Regions from separate parts of the Homo sapiens genome. Here all the other regions are linked to region 1. The links are contacts of gene promoters, found by promoter capture Hi-C in blood cells and fetal thymus (Javierre and others, 2016). All regions are on one chromosome and are shown on one strand. Each heading gives the region's core, a stretch centred on a gene start or on the middle of the fragment in contact. The rest is flanking DNA. Distances are from core to core; before and after follow the strand shown.

Region 1 (3,388 bases), core at 285-2,784:
TTTAACAATACCTTTTGAGGTACAGTAGGGTCCACAGTTTCCCAAGGTTCTGGATTTTTTTTTCGATCAAGGCTAAAATTAAAGAAAGCCAATTAAACATTAAAAGATGTGAATTTAAACCAACACTGATACTGGGTTTATAAACATGTTAGGGACAAAACCAGTCTCATACTAAGGCATGTGTCTGCTAATGATCAGGAACCATCAGTAGCAACTAAAATTGATTGAAAATTCTCTAAGGGAGTTTCATGGTGTGGCTCAAACATTAAACATCAGTTCCCCTAAAGGGTAGGAGGTCTGTATTCTCTTGATTGGGCTGCATTGGGGAAGGATCCCACAAACCAAATAACCATGGGAGTGAAACTGCCAAGCCAAGGACATGCAATAATGTTCTTATCTCAGTCTGTGGGAGGGGCAGGTTGAACTCTGCAGGTGGTGAACTCCAGGGCTCTAGGCTCCTCTGCCAGCGGTTAGAGGACTGCCCTCTCCAGCCCTGCACCAGCCTCCAACAGTTTCAAGTTTATCTTTTCCTCATATTCCAGGATACATGTTTTTGTTTTTTACTTTCTTCTACCCAAAGTTGAGATTAGGTTCATCGTAGACAACTGAATCTATCAATTCTACCACATTAGTAAAAATCTAATAAGCTAAAATTTAAAATTTTAATTAAAATGATTGTTTCATGATATATATCTCCCAAAACCACTGAAGAACTTTAAATTTCAAAACTTAAAAAAAAAAAAACAAGCTTTACTTCACTGCCAGAGAGTGGAGAAGGGCCAATGGGTAAAAGAATAAACACAAGAAATAAACTAATTTGATTAATATCATGGGTTTTTTTAAATTTTTTCTTTTTTTTTTCTAATTTTCATTTTCTGACCCATTGGTAGACAATATCATAAGAGTTTTCTGATAAAAGATGCTTTTTAACCCTGACTCCCAGTTCACAATTTGGCATTCTCATCCATGGGAAAAAAATAGGAAACTTATACATTTCATAAACTAAAAGTCATCCAAACACTGCCAAAAACGTTTTTATAAATTGAGACCTACTTACATCACATCGGTTTTCCAAAGAGAATACACAGCGAAAGATGAGGCTCCACCCGCCGCCACAGTCATGAACACCACCAAGGGAATGAGCTAACAAATAACAGGTGGAGGGGACACATTTGGACACTTCAATATGAAACATTTGAAACACAGCAAAACAACTGTATTTATTTTATACTTTGTTCAAAATCTGTGCCATCTTTTCATCTTTAAAAATGAAAACTTTAGTCAAGATTTTCAATTGTTTTTAAAACTTACTTCCTTCCTTTTCATCAGGAGTTGGAAAAAGCTCATGATGACTTCAGCGAAGAATTGCCAAATCTAGAAATTAAAAATCCAAAGTATTGATCGCCTGGTGGGCGCCAAACCGTCCACCGCGCTCCGCAGGCCAACTGCGGGCCGGCGCGTCCGCGTCTCTGCAGATGGGAGACTCACCTGGACGCCGGGCGGTGCGCACGGACGATGGTAACGCCCGGAACCGAACGGGCCGGCGGCCTCCCCACCTTATATATAGCGACCACAACCGCCCCGGGTGGGCCGGGCCAGCGCGCTCTGGTCACGCGCGTGGGGCGGGGAGCGCGAGGGACCTGACTCGCTTTCCCCGTTGGGCACGCGACTCCCGGGCGCCCCCTGCAGGACATTCTGCGGCTGACGTGAAGCGCCCGAACGCGGGCGCTGGCGCCCCCTGCCGCTCGCCGCGGTCTTCCTTACCTGCCGACCCCGGTCGCTCTTGGCCCCCCTAGGTGCTTGTGAGGAGTTTGGAGGTTTGGGGAGTAGGAGGTGGAACCCCCTAAGAGGGGAGCGCAGATAGCCGAGGCCTGAGGGAAAGCCAACCCTTCTAAAAGGGTATCCGGGCCTGGCGCGGTGGCTTAGGACTGTAATCCCAACACTTTGGGAGGCTGAGGCAGGAGGATCACTCGAGTCCAGCCTGGCCAACGTGACGAAACCACGTCTCTACTAAAAAAAATTAGCGGGCGTGGTGCTGCATGCCTGCAGTCCCAGCTACTGAGGAGGGCGAGGCAGGAGAATCGCTTGAGTCCAGGCCTTTGAGGTCGCAGTGAGCCAAGATTACACCACTGTATTCCAGCCTGGGCAACAGAGCGAGACCCTGTTTTAAATAAAATAGAATAAAACAAAATATTTAAATAAGCAAATAAACAATAAAAGGGGGTCCGGAAAAATGAGCTGCAGACCGGAGGGTCCCAGGAGAGGCTCCCAGGTGCAGGCGGGTAAATTAGAATTAATCCAATCACATTAAAAGCTCCAAAATGTGGTCTGTGCACCTATGGAGATCATTAAAATTAAATTGTAAAGTTTATTTCAGAATAACTCCCAGGGCGTCCTGACTTTTTCTGCTAAAAAAAAAACCCAAAAAAACAAAAACAAACAAATAAACACAATAAAACAAAAACCCGAGGTCGAGGGAGAACAAACAAAAGAATAAGCTGGGGAGGCTGTCAGGAGAAGGTCTTTCTGCAAACGACCCTGCCGGCTGGTTTAGTCTTTGGGTTCCCTCCTAACTCTCCTCTAAGCCAGCAACCTCACTTTGCAGTTTGCAGGCGGCTGCAATGGTAACAATTTCACAGAGCCAGGGGCTGTGTGTGTGCCAGACACTGAGCCAGATTCCCCTCGGCAAGGTGGGTGCAAAGTCTTATTAAGACTCAGAGAGGCTCTGGTCACGTCACTGGTAAGTGGCGGCGATGCCATCAGAACGCAGGTCTGTCTGGTGCCCAACACCATGGTTCTGTCTGCACCCCTCTGTTAAATACTGCAATAAGTAAAGGACCAGTTATTTTAAAACAAACAGTTTGAAGTTCAAGCTGTAAGTTAAAGTTAAAAGGCAACATCTTAACGTTCCCTGAAATTGGCTAGACCCTGCTGTGTTTCAACCCCATTTTCATTCTAAACCTGGGTTTTGTAGTCAAATGGACCTGAGTTCAGAGCCTGCCCCTGCTATACTTATTATTAATAGCTGACTTTAAGTAAACTACTTAACCTTCATGAGTTTCAGTTTATATATCTGCAAAATGGGGGCAAACCTGGCAGGGGAGAGAGTTGGAAAAAATGTTAGAATATATGTAAAGCATTCTGTCCTGCTTGTAGTAGGCACTCAACAAATAGTTACTATATGCAAAGATTTGGTTTTTTGTTTGTTTTGTTTTTTGAGCCAGAGTCTCGCTCTGTCACCCTGGCTGGAGTGCAGTGGTGTGATCTCGGCTCACTGCAACCTCTGCTTCATGGGCTAAAGCGACTCTCATGCCTCAGTCTCCTGGGCATCTGGGAATACAGGCATGTGCCACCACGCCCCGCTAATTTTTGTATTTTTAGTAGAGAC
Region 2 (3,388 bases), core at 405-2,904, 140 kb before region 1:
GTAGTTCCTTAAAGGAAAATACGATCCATGGAGCAGGCAGGAGCCCTGCCCTTCGGCTGCAGACCCAGGGGTCTCTGTGCTCTTGGGAGCCCAGAGCCAGCTCTCTCCCAGAGCCCCCTGCCAGCACCTGTTCCTGCTGCCTGGCTTCTCCCACTGTCAGCTCCTGCTCTAATCCTGGAGCAAGGTTGGAGCCGAGCCCCGGCATTGTTGCAGCCCAGCCAGGGGGCTCATGCTCAGGGCAGTGCTGACACACCAGCCCCCAGCCACATCAGTCCCCTCCAGACTTTGGGTGATGAGGATCATGGGAGGGAAGCCGAGGGGGACTGCACGTAGCTCAACACTGGCCTGCAGGCACCTCTTGGCACAAACATCCTGGGTGCCAATGAATGGCCGTGAGAGGCAGACAGGCTCCTGGGAGGAAGGGGGTGGGTCCCCAGTGAAGCTCCACTTTCAGGCCAGGGAAGGTCCTACCAGTCCTGCCCACCAGAGGGGGAACTTGTGGTGCTTTTTCCTGAGCCCACCTATTGCTGCCCATGGACCAATCAGCATATACTTTCCCCACTCTGAATGAAAACCATAAAAACCCCAGACTCAGCCAGAGCAGGGCAGACATCAGGATGGCCAGCTGCATAGAGGAACTACCATCTCCGCTGAGAGATGAACATTTTTGGGGATGACCTGTCAGCAGAGAGGAGCCATCCACTCCAGGCCTCCTCTCTGCTGAGAGCTGCACACTCGATGGGACGACCTGCCCACAGAGAGGACCTGCTCACCGCGGGTCTCCTCTGAGCTGTTCTGACCCTCAGTAAAGTTCTTCTTCGTCTTGCTCACCCTCCACTTGTCTGCATACATCACTCTTCCTGGACATAGGACAAGAACTTGGGCAAAGGCACCACCACCCACAGAGGTTTCCAGCCAGAAAAGCAGCACCTCAAATATCCCAAGAAAAGAAATAGCAAAGGGCTAAAGTCAAAAGATTTGTTTCAAGCCCAGCTAAGATAATCATTAGCTGTATTAGATTTTTGTCTAACCAACTAGCAAGTAGAGAAGTCCAGACCTTCCTAAACAAACAAAGGAAGTTTTGATCAACTGAGCTTGAAAGTCCGGGGGCTGCTCTGGCTTCAAGGATTTCTATGTCTTCTCCTCAGCCAAAATAGGAATCTCTCCCTCTCTCTCCCTTTGATTCTCCACTCTGCTTTCTCCTATGTAGCATTCACTCTAGGAGCTCTCTCAATGTGATAGGAAAATAGCTCCAGGGTTTCATGATCCTTACATCTCCCAAGTGAAGTCAGTGCGCTCCTAGCATTCATTTATTTCAATCCCTTAAAAAAAAAAAAAAAAAAACTCAAAGCCAGGCACAGTGGCTCACACTTGTAATCCCAGCACTTTGGGAGGCTGAAGCAGGTGGCTCACTTGAGGTCAGGAGTTCAAGACCAGCCTGGCCAACATGGTGAAACCCCGTCTTTACAAAAAATACAAAAATTAGCCAGGTGTGGTGACGCATGCCTGTAATCCCAGCTACTCGGGAGGCTGAGGTAGGAGAATTGCTTGAACCCAGGAGGCAGAGGTTGCAGTGAGCCAAGATTGCACCACTGCACTCCAGCCTGGGCAACAGAGCAAGACTCCATCTCAAAAAAAAAAAAAACACTCAAATACTTGGATTACATGCCCACCCGTATACCAATCTCTGCATCTAGGGGAATATAGTGGACCCTGATGGGTCAGTGTGGGTCACACATAACAGACAGAGGCAGAGCCCCTTGACTGACAGACCTGCTAGGAGTTATAGAAAGGCACTGGGTAGTTCCTTAAAGGAAAAATCAGAGTCCTATTACCAAAAAGAGGAAGGAAATTGGCCCAACCAAAACAACAGATGTCAACTATATCAGTTATGAGATTTTAGTCAAGTCACTTACTCTCTGAACCTGTGTTTTTTTCATCAGTAAAAGAGGCATGATAATGATAATACCAGACCCATTACTCGGTGTAGTTCTTGTAAGAATCAAGCACGCATTATATGAACAGGATTTGTAAACTGCTGCAAGACACTATTGTAAATAATAGCACCCACTAAACGAGCATTTATTATGGCTAGAAGAAATAGTATTATTTCTGTTATTAGTGCCTTGGATACATATATTCACTAACCTTAATGTGATCTCTTAAATAGACTTTAGGTTTCCTAAGTAACCATTCAACCTTAATTTGGCTTCTTATGTAGACTTCTCTGTTGAAATAAGAGGGACTAAATGACTTAAATGAATATCGGAGGGCTTGGCAATTCTATGTTTTATTAAAATTCATTTCTTTTATACAAATCAACTTCATACAATAGGCAGTTTTTTAGTGGTTAATATCAACTGGTTAAGCTGGCAACTGAAGTTGCAAACCTGCAAAATTAGAAGATCAAGCTGTGAGGGATAGAGAACATCACCAATACCAGTGTTCTGCTTCTATTGGCAGGTGGGGAATCTTTTTTATTTTTTATTTAGTATTATCAAATCTGACAGTAAATGAATATCCGTAATATTGAGTGTTAATCATTTGAAATAGTATCAGTGTTTTTGAACTATTAGTAAAACTAGTCACAAATGATGATTCATTCAAATAACTTTAAATATTATTCAAAAGACAGCGATTCTTCTTCCACTTTGGGGTTTTCACAAAATTCATTTGTTAATCTTACATGTAGATATCAAAGTAGCCATCAGTCATTATTACTTTATTCTCTATGTTATGGAAAAAGTGTGATTTTAATGACCATAGGCATCATATATTATTCCAGGACTCAGCTTTCCTTTTAGGATAGATTTATTTAAATTAGCTAGGAGATAGATCATGCTTCATTTAAAATTGCTAAAATAAGTACTTGCATTAGCTATGCAAAATAGTCCTTTTTTTACTTAAAATGTTCTCTTCAAAGTGTTTCAGTTGCTAAATGTGAATTATTTCCAAAGATTCTCCAGACCAAAAGGTGAGATGATATTTTAAAAATTCAATTTCCTTATAATGTAATGAGGTCAATAATACAAAGAGTTCAGAGTCTCTGATTCCTTTTTCAGTTTAAAAATGCCAGTGGATCAAGTAATTTCTAAATTATTGCCCTAGTCTTTGGACTTCCTATAAATTTCTTGTCAACATTTTTTGAATTTACTTAGGAAAGTGCTGTCTTTAAAATTAATTATTCACTTACCTTCATTTTAAAGTATTTTTTCAAAACTGCTTATTTGATGTAGTAGATGAAAGGGTATATTTAAAGGCATTAATTTTTATTAACAGCTAAATATCTCAAGATGTCATTTTTCCCTCTAAGTTTTCAGAAAAGTCTCTATTATGTGCTCCCAGAGAGAAAAATAGACTTTAAATTAATTTACTTAATAAAGAGATA
Region 3 (3,388 bases), core at 243-2,742, 130 kb after region 1:
TGCAATTCCTATAAAAATTCCAATGCCTTTTTTTTTCTTGCAGAAATGGAAAAGTAGATCCTCTCAAATTCATAGGGAATTGCAAGGGGCCCTGATTATCTAAAATAATATCAAAAAAATAACAAAGTTGGAAGACTCATAGTTTCCAATTTCAAAACTTACTACATAGCTACAGTGATCAAAACAGTGTGAGGTATTGGCATAAGGACAGAGATAAACATCAATGGAATAGAATTGAGAGACCAGAAGTAAACCCATACATCTATGGACAATTGATTTTCAACAAGGGTGACAAGACCATTTGATGGGGAAGAAGTAATCTTTTCAACAAATGGTTCTGGGAAAACTGGATATCCACATCCAAAAGAATGACACTTTTTGGACCCCTACCTCACACCATATACAAAAAGTAACTCAAAATGGATCAAAAGTAACTCAAAATGGATCAAAAAAAAAAAAAAAAAAGACTGGATGTGGTGGCTCACATCTGTAAATCCCAGCACTTTGGGAGGCTGAGGCAGGTGGATCACCTGAGGTCAGGAGTTCAAGACCAGCCTGGCCAACATGGTGAAACCCTGTCTCTACTAAAAATACAAAAATTAGCCGGCATGCTGGTGAATGCCTGTAATCCCAGCTACTTGGGAGGCTGAGGCAGGAGAATAGCTTGAACCCAGGAAGCAGAGAGGCTGCAGTGAGCTGAGATCACGCCATCATGCTCTATCCTGGGCAACAGAGCCAGAGCGAGACTCTGCCTCAAAAAAAAAAAAAAAAAACCTAAATGTAGAAACAAAAACTACTAAACTCTTAGAAAAAAGGATCAAGGTAAATTTTTATCAGTTTGGATTTGGCAATGAATTCTTAGATATGGCACCAAAAGCACAAGCAATAAGAGAAAAAAATAGGTAAAATGGACTGTGTCCAAATTTAAAACTTTTATGTCAGGACATTACCAAGAAAGTGAAAAGACAACCTAAAGAATGGGACATTTGCAACTCATATATTTGCTAAGTGCCTGGTATCAAAAATATATTTTTTAAAACTCTTACAGCTCAACAGAAAAAAACAAGCAACTCAGTTTAAAAATGGGCAGAGTGCTTAAGTAGATATTTCTTCAAAGAAGATATACCAGTGAGCAACAACCACATAAAAAGATGCTCAATGTCATTCGTCATTAGGGAAATGTAAATCAAAACCACAATGAGATACCACTTCAAACCCACTAGGATTGCTATAATTAGAAAACCAAAACCAAACAACAACAACAACAACAACAAAAAGAAAACAGTAAGTATTGCTAAGGAATTAGAGAAATTGGAACTCTTGTACATTGCTGATGGAATATAAAATGGTGCAACCATTGTTAAAAACCGTTTGGTGGTTTCTCAAAAAATCAAACAGGGAATTACCCTATGACCCAGCAATTGTACTTCAAGGTATATACTGCAAAGAATTGACAACAGATACTTAAACAAATACGTGTACATGAATGTTCACAGCAACACTATTCACAATAGCCAAAAGATGGGAACAAACCACATGTCCATAAAAGAATGAATGAATAAATAAAATGTGACATATGCATATAATAGAATATTATTCAGCCATAAAAAGGAACAAAGGACTGATACATGCTACAACATGCAGGTACCTTGAAAACATTATGCTAAGTAGAATAAATCAGACACAAAGGTCATATGTGGGTTTCATTTATATGTAATATTCAGAATAGAAAAATCTGTACAGATAGAAAGCAGATTAGTTGTTCCAGGGGCTAAAAGAGGGTAGAATGAGGAGTGACTGCTTAATGGGTAAAGCGTTGTCCTTTGGGCTAATGAAAATGTTTTGAAACTATATAGAGGTGGTACACATTGTGAGTGTTCTAAACGCCACTGAATTGTATACTTTAAAATGATTAATATGGCCGGGTGCGGTGGCTCATGTCTACAATCCCAGCACTTTGGGAAGCCAAGATGGGAGGATCCCTTGAGCTCAGGAGTCCAAGACCAGCCTGGGCAATGTGGCGAAACCCTGTCTCTACAGAAAATACAAAAGTTAGCACATAGTGGCACACAACTGTGGTACCAGCTACTCTAGGGCTGAGGCAGGAGGATTGCTTGAGCCTGGGATGTTGAGGCTATAATGAGCTATGGCCCCACTACACTCCAGCCTGAGTGACAGAGAGAGACCTTGCCTCAAAAAATAAAATGATTAATATTATGCTACGAATGTCATGTCAATTAAAAAAAAAAGAGTGAAGAAAATGCCGAAGGACCTATTTTTTTAAAGCCTTAAAAGTAGAGAAAAATAGAGTGAAGCAAATTCAAATACAAAGCCAAAACAAAACAAGGGTGTATAACACTGAGAATTTCACCCTGAAAATAAAAATGGATATGGACACTAACAAGTAAAAAAGATAGAGTATACACAATCACAAAAAAAGCAAATCAAAAAATTTTTTGTGAGCAGTACTCTGGGAATGCTGACTGAATAGATGAAACTCGTAACTGTTATTTTAAAAATTTCACTGCGATGCTAAAGGGCAGGAAACCTAGACAAAATAGAGATAGGGAAGAAGCCTGCTTTCCTGAGAACCTAGAAAGTTAAAAGTGATATCTTGGCTTGAAATGGATACAGCATAGACTAGAAGAGAAAAATCATCCTAAGGATCAGGACCTACAGGAAAGACATTATATTAAGAGATAGGAAGGAAGACAGTGAATGCCTAACATAGACTGAAGATTGGGGGCCTTGAGTAGTAGGGAATACAAGACATAAAACCCAGAAGTGCCAGCCATTGATATCCCAGTAATTTCCAGCTTTACATCCCAAATTCTTCCCATCCCTGCCTAGTAGCCTATTCCACAACAGTCATGGCAAAATCTACTGCTACAGCCAAGGCTTTAAGGTCAGCATTCTTTAACTCCTAGTTTAGCAGGGAAGCTCAAAATATAAATTTTTCTTGAAACTAAAGTACTCTATTGGACCAGCCAGAGGGGATGAGCTTAAGATGGGGAAGTAGATTTATGTGCTATTCATAAGGAGTATAGATATTTGAATTTCCAAAAAATATAAAGAGGCTTAGACTTAAGAAATAGGAACAGTGGTGTGTTTCATTTTAAAAAAAAATCCCTGCCACTCTTGGTTAAACAGGTGGGTTTTAAAGCCAGAGCTCCTGGGATCAAATGCCAGCTCCACCATTTATTAGCAAGCTCATCACTCTTCGCTTGTTTCCTCCGTAAGAAGTAGATAATAACAGTATGTAAAGCTTAGGTTTTTGAAGACTGTATGTAAGATATGCATGGCACCTGGTGCTTGCTAAGGTCTCAACACACGTTACTTTCACTTTTCTGATCATTCTGTTTCCCGTTGAGGAGAGCTGCTCCCAGAT

What was found. The method cuts DNA at HindIII sites, captures the fragments that hold promoters and counts their contacts. A CHiCAGO score of 5 or more calls a contact.
Region 2: a fragment that was not itself captured here is called in contact with the fragment with the promoter of COXFA4L3 in region 1 in 16 of 17 cell types (M2 macrophages, M0 macrophages, monocytes and 13 more); the score reaches 22.2 in M2 macrophages.
Region 3: a contact is called between a fragment that was not itself captured here and the fragment with the promoter of COXFA4L3 in region 1, in 4 of 17 cell types (M2 macrophages, M0 macrophages, naive B cells and 1 more). The highest score is 8.2, in M2 macrophages.

What each region holds. Positions count from the first base shown.
Region 1 is chr15:45,428,756-45,432,143 of GRCh38, reverse strand. It overlaps COXFA4L3 (cytochrome c oxidase associated subunit FA4L3), which reads right to left and starts at 1,534. Exons shown (of 5, transcript NM_197955.3): 1 at 1,489-1,534; 2 at 1,312-1,374; 3 at 1,058-1,143; 4 at 12-72. The coding sequence starts at 1,347. RefSeq lists a silencer at 1,512-1,591. The HindIII fragment of the contact is 4,531 bases long and covers 751-3,388 here.
Region 2 is chr15:45,571,290-45,574,677 of GRCh38, reverse strand. No RefSeq gene overlaps it. Among named protein-coding and RNA genes, the nearest start is that of BLOC1S6, 14 kb to the left of the region's middle. The HindIII fragment of the contact is 5,703 bases long and covers 1-3,388 here.
Region 3 is chr15:45,300,418-45,303,805 of GRCh38, reverse strand. No RefSeq gene overlaps it. Among named protein-coding and RNA genes, the nearest start is that of SLC28A2-AS1, 23 kb to the right of the region's middle. The HindIII fragment of the contact is 3,550 bases long and covers 1-3,267 here.